3 separate regions of the Homo sapiens genome follow, and all the other regions are linked to region 1. Evidence: promoter capture Hi-C in human tissues and cell types (Jung and others, 2019). All regions are on one chromosome and are shown on one strand. The core of a region is centred on a gene start or on the middle of the fragment in contact, and the rest is flanking DNA. Distances in the headings are between cores, read along the strand shown.

Region 1 (3,316 bases), core at 190-2,689:
TTATAAGTGGGACCTGATCAATGAGAACATATAGACATAAGGAGGGGAACAACACACACTGAGCCCTGTTGGGGGGTGGGGTGGGGGGGAGGGAGAACCTTAGGAAAACTAGCTAATGCCTGTGGGGCTTAATACCTAGGTGATGGATTGATAGGTGCAGCAAACCACCATGGCACACGTTTACCTATGTAGCAAACCTGCACATCCTGCATATGTACCCCAGAACATAAAATAAAATAAAAGGAGTCTAAACATTTTTAATGTGAATTTTTGGAGCCAGGCAGAGGAGGACAGAGAAGATGTCCCTGAGTATAATAAAGCAGACGTGGAAGGACACTCATGCAATCTCCTCCCCGTGTGGACCCCTGGAAGCAGGTGTCCCTTCATGATCACAAATTTCTGTCTCCGAGAAGCAAGGCATGTCCTTTCCCAAGAAACTTTTCCAGAATCACAAACTTTTCCTACTCTTTGCAGGGATGAATGTATTTCTGCAGACTGTGATGGCCTATGACCACTTTGTGGCCATCTGTCACCCCCTGCACTACAGGGTCATCATGAATCCTGGGATCTTTGGACTGTGGGTTCTGGTGTCCTGGAGCATGAGTGCCCTGAATTCCTCACTGCAAAGCAGAATGTGTTGCAGCTGTCCTTCTGCACAAACTTGGAAATCCCCCCATTTTTTTCTGTGAACTTAATCAGTTGATCCTGCTTGCCTGTTCTAACACTTTTTTTTTTTTTTTTAGTGAGATGGAGTTTTGTTCTTATTACCCAGGCTGGAGAGAAATGGCGCCATATTGGCTCACTGCAACCTCCACCTCCCGGGTTCAAGCAATTCTCCTGCCTCAGCCTCCTGCATAGCTGGGATTACAGGCAACTGCCACCACACCCGGCTAATGTTTTTGCACTCCAGCTCAGGTGATACAACAAGACTCCATCTCAAAAAAATATATATATGAAATTCTAATGTTTTGGCAAAAGCAACATGAAGCCAAGAAATGTAGTACCCATGGTTTTATATGAACAGAACACAGTTCATCTCCTTGCAAAGGTAAATTGCCATTTTCTGGATATGTCAAGAGCTGAGTTTCCATCACAAGCCAGTGCTTTGGAGACTCAAGGGACCTAGTCAAGACAGGTTCCTCAGTTTAGACTTTGGAGGAAATTTTCACTGAAGGCTGGGAGAAGGTGCTAGGAGAATGGGACTCTGGAAGCCAAGGAAGTCCACGGGGAAGGAGTAATAAAGCCTGGATACACCTCACTTTTAACATAGTGTCTTGGGAATAGACGATACAGAAAAAAAAAACAACAATGACATTTGTTTCAGTGCAGGGCAACGTCCCCCAGGAAACTGATGTGTTCAGAGTTGGAATAACAGGAGGAAAGGTATCTAATCAGCAGATATACGAAGCCATAAATATCTCCTCTGCTGCAGTCCCTCAGCATATGCAACCTTGGGCTGGAAATGACATGGTGGTTTCATTTGGAGTCCTTAGTCTGGCTCAAGTATAGATGATGCTTCAACTTTTCCTGATGCCTTGTCTTGAGACAGAGATTCCATCTCCACCATCAACCTGCTAGAGAGGAATTTACACTTCTCCATGGAGACCTTCCTTTCAGAAAACTCAGTAGGGTAAGTCCCAGAGCCCAGTGGGTACTGTAGGAAAGGTCAGGAAGAACAAGAGCCGTGAATATTAACCTGAGGTCACCTGAGAGCCAATCATTTCCTCCAGCTTTGTTCCTTTTGCTTAGAAATGTCTTGGCTATACGGGCTATTTTTTGGTTCTATATGAAATTTAAAGTAGTTTTTGTAACTCTGTAAAGAAAGTCAATGTTAGCTTGATGGGGATAGCATTGAATCTATAAATTACTTTGGGCAGTATGGCCATTTTCAAGATATTGATTCTTCCTTTCCATGAGCATGGAATGTTTTTCCATTTGTTTGTGTCCTCTCTTATTTCCTTGAGCTGTGGTTTGTAGTTCTCCTTGAAGAAGTCCTTCACATCCCTTGTAGGTTATATTCCTAGGTATTTTATTCTCTTTGTAGCAATTGTGAATGGGAGTTCACTCATGATTTGGCTCTCTGTCTATTATTGCTGTATAGGAATGCTTGTGATTTTTGCACATTGATTTTGTATCCTGAGATTTTGCTGAAGTTGCTTATCAGCTTAAGGAGATTTTGGGCTGAGACGATGGGGTTTCCTAAATATACAATCATGTCATCTGCAAACAGAGACAATTTGACTTCCTCTCTTTGTATTTGAATACCCTTTACTTCCTTCTCTTGCCTGATTGCCCTGGCCAGAACTTCCAACACTATGTTGAATAGGAGTGGTGAGAGAGGGCACACTTGTCTTGTGCCAGTTTTCAAAGGGAATGCTTCCAGCTTTTGCCTATTCAGTATGATATTGGCTGTGGGTATGTCATAAATAGCTCTGATTATTTTGAGTTATGTTCCATCAATACCTAGTTTACTGAGAGTTTTTAGCATGAAGGGGAGTTGAATTTTATCGGAGGACTTTTCTGCATCTATTGAGATAATCATGTAGTTTTTGTCATTGGTTCTATTTATGTGATGGATTACATTTATTGATTTGCATATGTTGAACCAGCCTGGCATCCCAGGGATGAAGCCGACTTGATGATGCTGGATAAGCTTTTTGATGTGCTGCTGGATTCAGTTTGCCAGTATTTTACTGAGGATTTTCACATTGATGTTCATCAGGGATATTGGCCTGAAATTTTCTCTTTTTTTGTTGTGTCTCTGCCAGGTTTTGGTATCAGGATGATGCTGGCCTCATAAATTGAGCTGGGGAGGAGTCCCTCTTTTTCCATTGTTTGAAATCGTTTCAGAAGGAGTGATACCAGGTCCTCTCTGTACCTCCGGCAGAATTCAGCTGTGAAACTGACTGGTCCTGGGCCTCTTTTTGGTTGGTAGGCTATTAATTACTGCCTCAATTTCAGAACTTGTTATTGGTCTATTTAGGGATTTGACTTCTTCCTGGTTTAGTCTTGAGAGGGTGTATGTGTCCAGGAATTTATCCATTTCTTCTAGATTTTCTAGCTTATTTGCATAGAGGTGTTTATAGTATTCTCTGATGGGAGTTTGTATTTCTTTGGGATCGTTAACTTTTTTGGTTTACTTTTTAGAGCCTGGTTCTCACTATGATGCCCCGGCTGTTCTCAAAATCCTGGCTTCAGGTGACCTCCCTACTCAGCCTCCCAAAGCACTGGGATTACAGCTGTGATCCAATTATATTGCCCTCCTCATTGACTGTTAATGAAATATTTAAGGAAACATTTTTGGTCATAAAAAGTT
Region 2 (3,236 bases), core at 606-3,105, 40 kb before region 1:
GGGGGATTTCCAACTCTCTGCATAAGGACAACTGCAGCACCATTAAGCTATGTAATAAGGAATGCAAGACACTTGTGATCCAGGATACCAGAACCAGCAATCCACAGAGTTGAGGGTTCATGATGACCGTGTAGTACAGGGGGTGACAGATGGCCACAAACCGGTCATAGGCCATCACAGTCAGGAGGAAGCTGTCCAATCCTACAAAATGTATGAAAAAGTACATCTGGGTGATGCAGCCTGCAGAGGTGATGACTTTGCTCTGTGCCTGGATATTCACCAGCATCTTTGGGACCCTGGTGGAGGCAAAACAGATGTCTACAAAGGACAGGTTGGAGAGAAAGAAGTACATGGAGGTGTGGAGGTGGGAGCATAAAATGATAACCAGGATGATAAGCAAGTTTCCAAATACAATGATGAGGTACATGGATAAGAACACTCCAAAGAGAAATCGTTATGCTCTGGTTTCTCTTCAAATTGTATAAATCTTTTGCCTTTTACCAAAGAGAAATCGTTGCAGTCTGGGTTCTTCTGAAAATCCCAGAAGTCGAAATTCTGAAATTCGTGTATCATTCTCTGGTTCCATGTGGTAGAGGTGACTATAAAAAAAAAAAAAAGAGAGAGAGAGAAAATACATGACATAAGCATGCTTTTTTCACCCATCAGAAAAGCTATTATTTATATCCTACAGTCAGCAAGTTAATTTCTATATTTTGTGTGTGAATCTGGTCTACTTTATGAGATCTCCCATCCCATCTCTGCTTAGGAATTCCTTTCCCATGATGCTCAACTTTTCCCCAAATGGTCATTTATTTAAAAACTTTGCCGGGTGCGGTGGCTCACACCTGTAATCCCAGCACTTTGGGAGGCAGAGGTGGGCGGGTCACCTGAGGTCGGGAGTTCAAGACCAGCCTGACCAACATGGAGAAAACCCATCTCTACTAAAAATACAAAGTTAGCCGGATGTGGTGGTGCGTGCCCGTAATCCCAGCTACTCGGGAGGTTGAGGCAGGAGAATCATTTGAACCTGAGAGGCAGAGGTTGCAGGGAGCCAAGATGGCGCCATTGCACTCCATCCAGCCTGGGCTACAAGAGCAAAACTCCATCTCAAACAAAACAAAACAAAACAAAACAAAAACCAATACTTTAATGATAAATTCTTTCATGGATTTGAGGAATTTAAATTGAGTGTTGTCAACGTTCCAGGCTCTGTCTAGACAATGAGTGAACAGTGCTGAAAAACAAAAGTTCCTACAGTGAAGTATGGAGAAGAATACAAGTAAATCATATACTGTGTCAGATGGTAACCAGGGCTAGCAAGAAAAAGAAAGAAGGTAAAAAGGCGAGGGTGGATAGAGGATGTTAATTTTCCTAGGTGTCCAGAGAATACTAGCAGTCAAGGTGATAGGTGCCCATCAATAGTGGATTGGACAAAGAAACTGTGGTACTTATACACCATGGAATACTAGGCAGCCATAAAAAAGAATGAAATCATGTCCTTTCCAGCTACATGGATGAAGCTAGAGGCCGTTATTCTGAGCGACCTAATGCAAGAACAGAAAACCAAATATCGCATGTTCTCACTTATAAATGGTAGCTAAACATCGAATATACGTGAACACAAAGATGGGAACAATTGACACTGGAGACCGCTGGACAGAGGATGGAGGGAGGGGGATGTGAGCTGAAGAACCATCTGTTGGGTCCTATGCTTACCTCCTGAGTGATGGGATTGTTAGGACCCGAAGCCTCAGCATCACACAATTTACCCGTGTAACAAACCTGCACATGTACCCTTTAATCTGTAAGAAAAGCTGAAATTTTTAAAAAGAGAAATGAGACCTCAAGGAAGACAGGGCGGGAGCCATGAGGATATCTGGGAATGTGTGTGCCCAGCAGAAAGAATGGCCGGTGCAAAGGTGTAGAGGAAGGTTTCAGATGTTCAAGGCCAACGAGGAAGCCAGTGTGGCAGGGAAATCTGTGAGAGGTAAGTGATGGGAGATGGTGTCAGAAGATGTTGCACTATGAGGTGACTTCATTGCTGCTGAAGCTTCAAAATACAAGAAGTCCCTCTGCCCAGATTTTGTTTGGTTTGGTTTGGTTTTGAGACAGAGTCTCACTCTGTCGGCCAGGCTGGAGTGCAGTGGCATGATGTGGGTTCACTGCAACCTCCACCTCCTGGGTTCAAGAGATTCTCCTGCCTCAGCCTCCCAAGTAGCTGAGACTACAGGTGCCTGCTACCATGCCCTGCTAAGATTTATATTTTTTGGTAGAGATGGGGCTTCACCATGTTGGCCAGGCTGGTCTCAAACTCCTGACCTCAAGTGATCCTTTTGTCTCGGCCTCCCAAAGTGCTGGGATTACAGGCGTGAGCCACCACGCCCAGGCTTGTCCTGATGTTTTCTATTTGCACTTTAATAAATTGGCTCCATGTCCCATGAATTGAAATGCATCCTTTGTTTATTTCCATATGCTGCCTTGCGTGCTGACCTCTGTATTCTGAGTCACCTTTTGGAATATATTGAGTCCAGGTCCCTTTACTTTTTTTTTTTTTTTTTTTTTTTTTGAGACGGAGTCTCGCTCTGTTGCCCAGGCTGGAGTTCAGTGGCGCGATCTCGGCTCACTGCAACTTCCGCCTCCCAGGTTCACACCATTCTCCTGACTCAGCCTCCCAAGTAGCTGGGACTACAGGCGCCCGCCACCACGCCCGGCTAATTTTTTTGCATTTTTAGTAGAGGCAGGGTTTCACCATGTTAGCCGGGATGGTCTCGATCTCCTGACCTCGTGATCTGCCTGCCTCGGCCTCCCAAAGTACTGGGACTACAGGCGTGAGCCACTGCGTCCCTCTACTCTTAAAAGGGATATCTCTACCTCATTTGTATGTCATATTCTTTTATGCCTAGGTCTTTGCAACTTTAATTATTTATCCATGTTGAAAACATTAAATTATTGCTACTTCATATCTTGTTTCAGTTAATTAGCAAGGCTCCTTTCAATTCTGTTTAATGATGTTATTTTGAAATCACTCTCCCCACTAAAGACAGACACACATATGCACAATTAGTACAGACACACACACAGGCACACACTTGAAGCTGAATGAGGACTCCTGGGACTGTGTTTATAGCAAGCTGTTCTCACCTCCAGTCACACCATTAATATTAGAGAGGAATGGAAATGAAGCAAGCTTTCAATATCAGATTATCTTTCCATTTTTTTGTATGGTCATGTTCTGT
Region 3 (3,210 bases), core at 617-3,116, 57 kb after region 1:
TTAATTAGAGAAAGGATAATAATACATTGCAAGGGTGCAATGGGCAGGTTAGCAAGAAAGGAGCTGACTGCAAGGAGGCAAAGGCTTGCTGGGGATTTTATAGGATAGTGCTTGTGCTGCGAGCTGAAGAGGGCTTTGTGCGGTACTGATAATGCCAAGGTTGCAGTGAGCTAACTTGCATTTTTCCATCAGCTGAGGGTCAGGTGATAAGACGGGTGCAGGAAGATTGTGAGTCATTGGCACACGAGGGTTGTGTGTCCTGGACCATGAAGAAAGGCAGACTTAGAGCTTATCTATCTTCTCTTTTTGTTTTTCCCTGCTTCAGCCAGCCTGACTCCATTTCCCTAATTAGGACTCCACAGTCTTGTCTTTTGGATAACTTTATTTACTTATTTCTAGTTCCAAAAGGAAAGCTAAAACTTTAATAATCATTAAAACCGACATAATTAAATACTATTGTTAAATTAAAAACCATGAAGTCAATAAAGATGTCAGAATTCTTTATTTTTGATCTTTTATTTATTTTGCCAGGCATCGAGGAGATACAATGGAAGCTGAAATGTAACCATAACCAGGGTCGCTTTTATTTTCCATCCTATAAGATCCCCAGCAAGCCTTTGTCTCCTTGGAGTCAGTTCCTTTCTTGCTAACCTACCCGTTGCACCCTTGCAATGTATTTTTGTCCTTTTGCTGAGGGATTACCTGAGTTTATTAGACTTTTTCCTTACTGGGGTCTGTTTAATTTCTCTCACTCTGTTTATTGAACAGCTCTTTTATGTTTCTTTAAACACAGGGCTGAAAACAGTCATACCAAAATGGAAGTCCAAGTTTACATGTGTATACAGACTTGTGAACTGGAATTTCTTGTACCAATTCTACATTCTGTAGGGAAAAAAGAATCTGATATTAAAAGCTTTCCTTGAGCCAAATGCAGTAGCTCATGCCTGTAATTCCAGCACTTTGGGAGGCCAAAGTGGAAGGTTCACTTGAGGCCAGGAGTTCAAGACCAGCCTGGGCAACATAGGCAGACCTGGTCTCCACAAAAAATGTAGAAATCAGCCAAGGGTGGCGGCACATGGCTGTGGTCCCAACTACTTGGGAGGCTGAGGCAGGAGGATGGCTTGAGCCTGGGTGGTTGAAGCTGCAGTGAGCTATGATCACACCACTGCACTCCTGCCTGGGCCCTCTTCGGCCAGTGTGCTGCATGTGTATATGTGTGTGTGAGTGAGTGTGTGGCTGCATGTCTTTGGAGTGACAGCAGGTTTCAGAGCAAGAGGGACCTGGCCTCAATATATTTTATTATAAAGGAGACCAATGAAACAGAGGCCAGAACCCAAGACACCAGAAGGAAATAAAGAGGGGATGCATTTCAATTGATGTGACACCTTTCTAGTCCAGTTAATAAAGTGCAGGTGCAACAGCATCTAGACAGATGGACACTTTGTCCCTTGATGTTTTGACAGCCAGGTCCCCTTATTCTGCAACATCCTCTGACACCATGTCCCATCACTCTCCGTCTTACTGATTCCCTGGCCACACTGGCTTCTGTGTTGGACTTGAACATCTGAAAGAAGCACGTCCCAACCAGGTGCAGTGGCTCATGCCTATAATCCCAGCACTTTGGGAGGCCGAGGTGAGCGGATCACCTGAGGTTGGGAGTTCAAGACCAGCCTGACCAACATGGAGAAACCCCGTCTCTACTAAAAATACAAAATTAGCTGGGCGTGGTGGTGCATGCCTGTAATCCCAGCTACTCGGGAGGCTGAGGCAGGAGAATCGCTTGAACCTGGGAGGTGGAGGTTGCAGTGATCTGAGATTGCGCCACTGCGCTCCAGCCCGGCAACAGAGCGAGACTCTGTCTCAAAAAAGAAAACAAGAAAGAAGCACATCCCTCAAAGTTTTTGTACTGCCATTCCTCCTGCCAGGCACCCACTTCAACAGATAACTTCATGAATCTTGCCCTGTCTTCCTTGAGATCTTTTTTCAAACATCACCTTGTTTGCAGGTCTTGAATAATAATCAGCAAACAAACAAACAAAAAACAAAAGAAACACTTCATACCCTCCCTCCTTTTTACCTGCTTTGTTTATTTTCCAAGCGCCTGTTCCCATCTGACATATTATGTGATTGTTTAATTTGTTTATATTCGATTGTTTAATTTGTTTATATTCTTTCTTCATCATTAGATTGTAGGGACTTTTGTTTCTCAGCATTGTTCACTCATTATCTAGACAGTGACAAGAACATGGTCAACATTCAATTTATATTCCTCAAATTCATAGAAGAAGTTCTCATTCTTTTTTTTTTTTTTTTTTTTTTTTTTTTTGAGATGGAGTCTCGCTCTGTCACCAGGCTGGAGTGCAGTGGCATGATCTCAGCTCACTGCAACTTCTGCCTCCCGGGGTCAAGAGATTCTCCTTGCCTCAGCCTCCCAAGTAGCTGGGACTACAGGCGCATGCCACTACACCAGGCTAATTTTTGTATTTTTACTAGAGACAGGGTTTCACCATGTTGGCCAGGATGGTCTCAACCTCTTGACCTCGTGATCCGCCTGCTTTGACCTCCCAAAGTGCTGGGGTTACAGGCATAAGCCACCGTGCCCAGCCAGAAGTTCTTATTCTAACTGCAGAATGTACGCTGTCTTCAGTTAAGGCTGAGAGTGGGAAGGAGTTCCTAATCAGAGATGACATGGAGATCCCTTAAAGAGAACCAGATTCATACACAAAATGTAAGATAATTTATTGGCTATAAAATATAAATGATGGTATTTCTGAAAGGTTAGCAATGCATGCCTGTCTCGTTTCCCTCTTTCTCTCTCTCTCTCTGATAGTCACTTCAATCAAATGGAACCAGGAAATGATACACAAATTTCAGAATTTCTTCTTCTGGGATTTTCACAAGAACCTGGACTGCAACCCTTCCTCTTTGGGCTGTTCCTGTCCATGTACCTGGTCACTGTGCTCGGGAACCTGCTCATCATCCTGGCCACAATCTCAGACTCCCACCTCCACACCCCCATGTACTTCTTCCTCTCCAACCTGTCCTTTGCTGACATTTGTGTTACTTCCACCACCATTCCAAAAATGCTGATGAACATCCAGACACAGAACAAAGTCATCACCTACATAGCCTGCCTCATGCAGATGTATTTTTTCATACTCTTTGCTGGATTTGAAAACTTCCTCCTGTCCGTGATGGCCTATGACCGGT

What was found. The method cuts DNA at HindIII sites, captures the fragments that hold promoters and counts their contacts. A contact is called where the count stands out against the background at its distance.
Region 2: a contact is called between a fragment that was not itself captured here and the fragment with the promoter of OR7A17 in region 1, in 2 of the 25 tissues and cell types used here (H1 embryonic stem cells and adrenal gland).
Region 3: a fragment that was not itself captured here is called in contact with the fragment with the promoter of OR7A17 in region 1 in 3 of the 25 tissues and cell types used here (aorta, liver and psoas muscle).

The regions. Positions count from the first base shown.
Region 1 is chr19:14,884,255-14,887,570 of GRCh38, reverse strand. It overlaps OR7A17 (olfactory receptor family 7 subfamily A member 17), which reads left to right and starts at 1,439. Exons shown (of 3, transcript NM_030901.2): 1 at 1,439-1,630. It also overlaps the pseudogene OR7A18P. The HindIII fragment of the contact is 7,391 bases long and covers 1-3,316 here.
Region 2 is chr19:14,924,402-14,927,637 of GRCh38, reverse strand. It overlaps the pseudogene OR7A15P. Among named protein-coding and RNA genes, the nearest start is that of OR7C2, 15 kb to the left of the region's middle. The HindIII fragment of the contact is 7,045 bases long and covers 1-3,236 here.
Region 3 is chr19:14,827,875-14,831,084 of GRCh38, reverse strand. The region is part of intron 1 of OR7C1 (olfactory receptor family 7 subfamily C member 1); the gene reads left to right. It overlaps OR7A5 (olfactory receptor family 7 subfamily A member 5), which reads left to right. Exons shown (of 2, transcript NM_017506.2): 2 at 2,831-3,210. The coding sequence starts at 2,844. Among named protein-coding and RNA genes, the nearest start is that of OR7A5, 5.7 kb to the left of the region's middle. The HindIII fragment of the contact is 4,789 bases long and covers 1-3,210 here.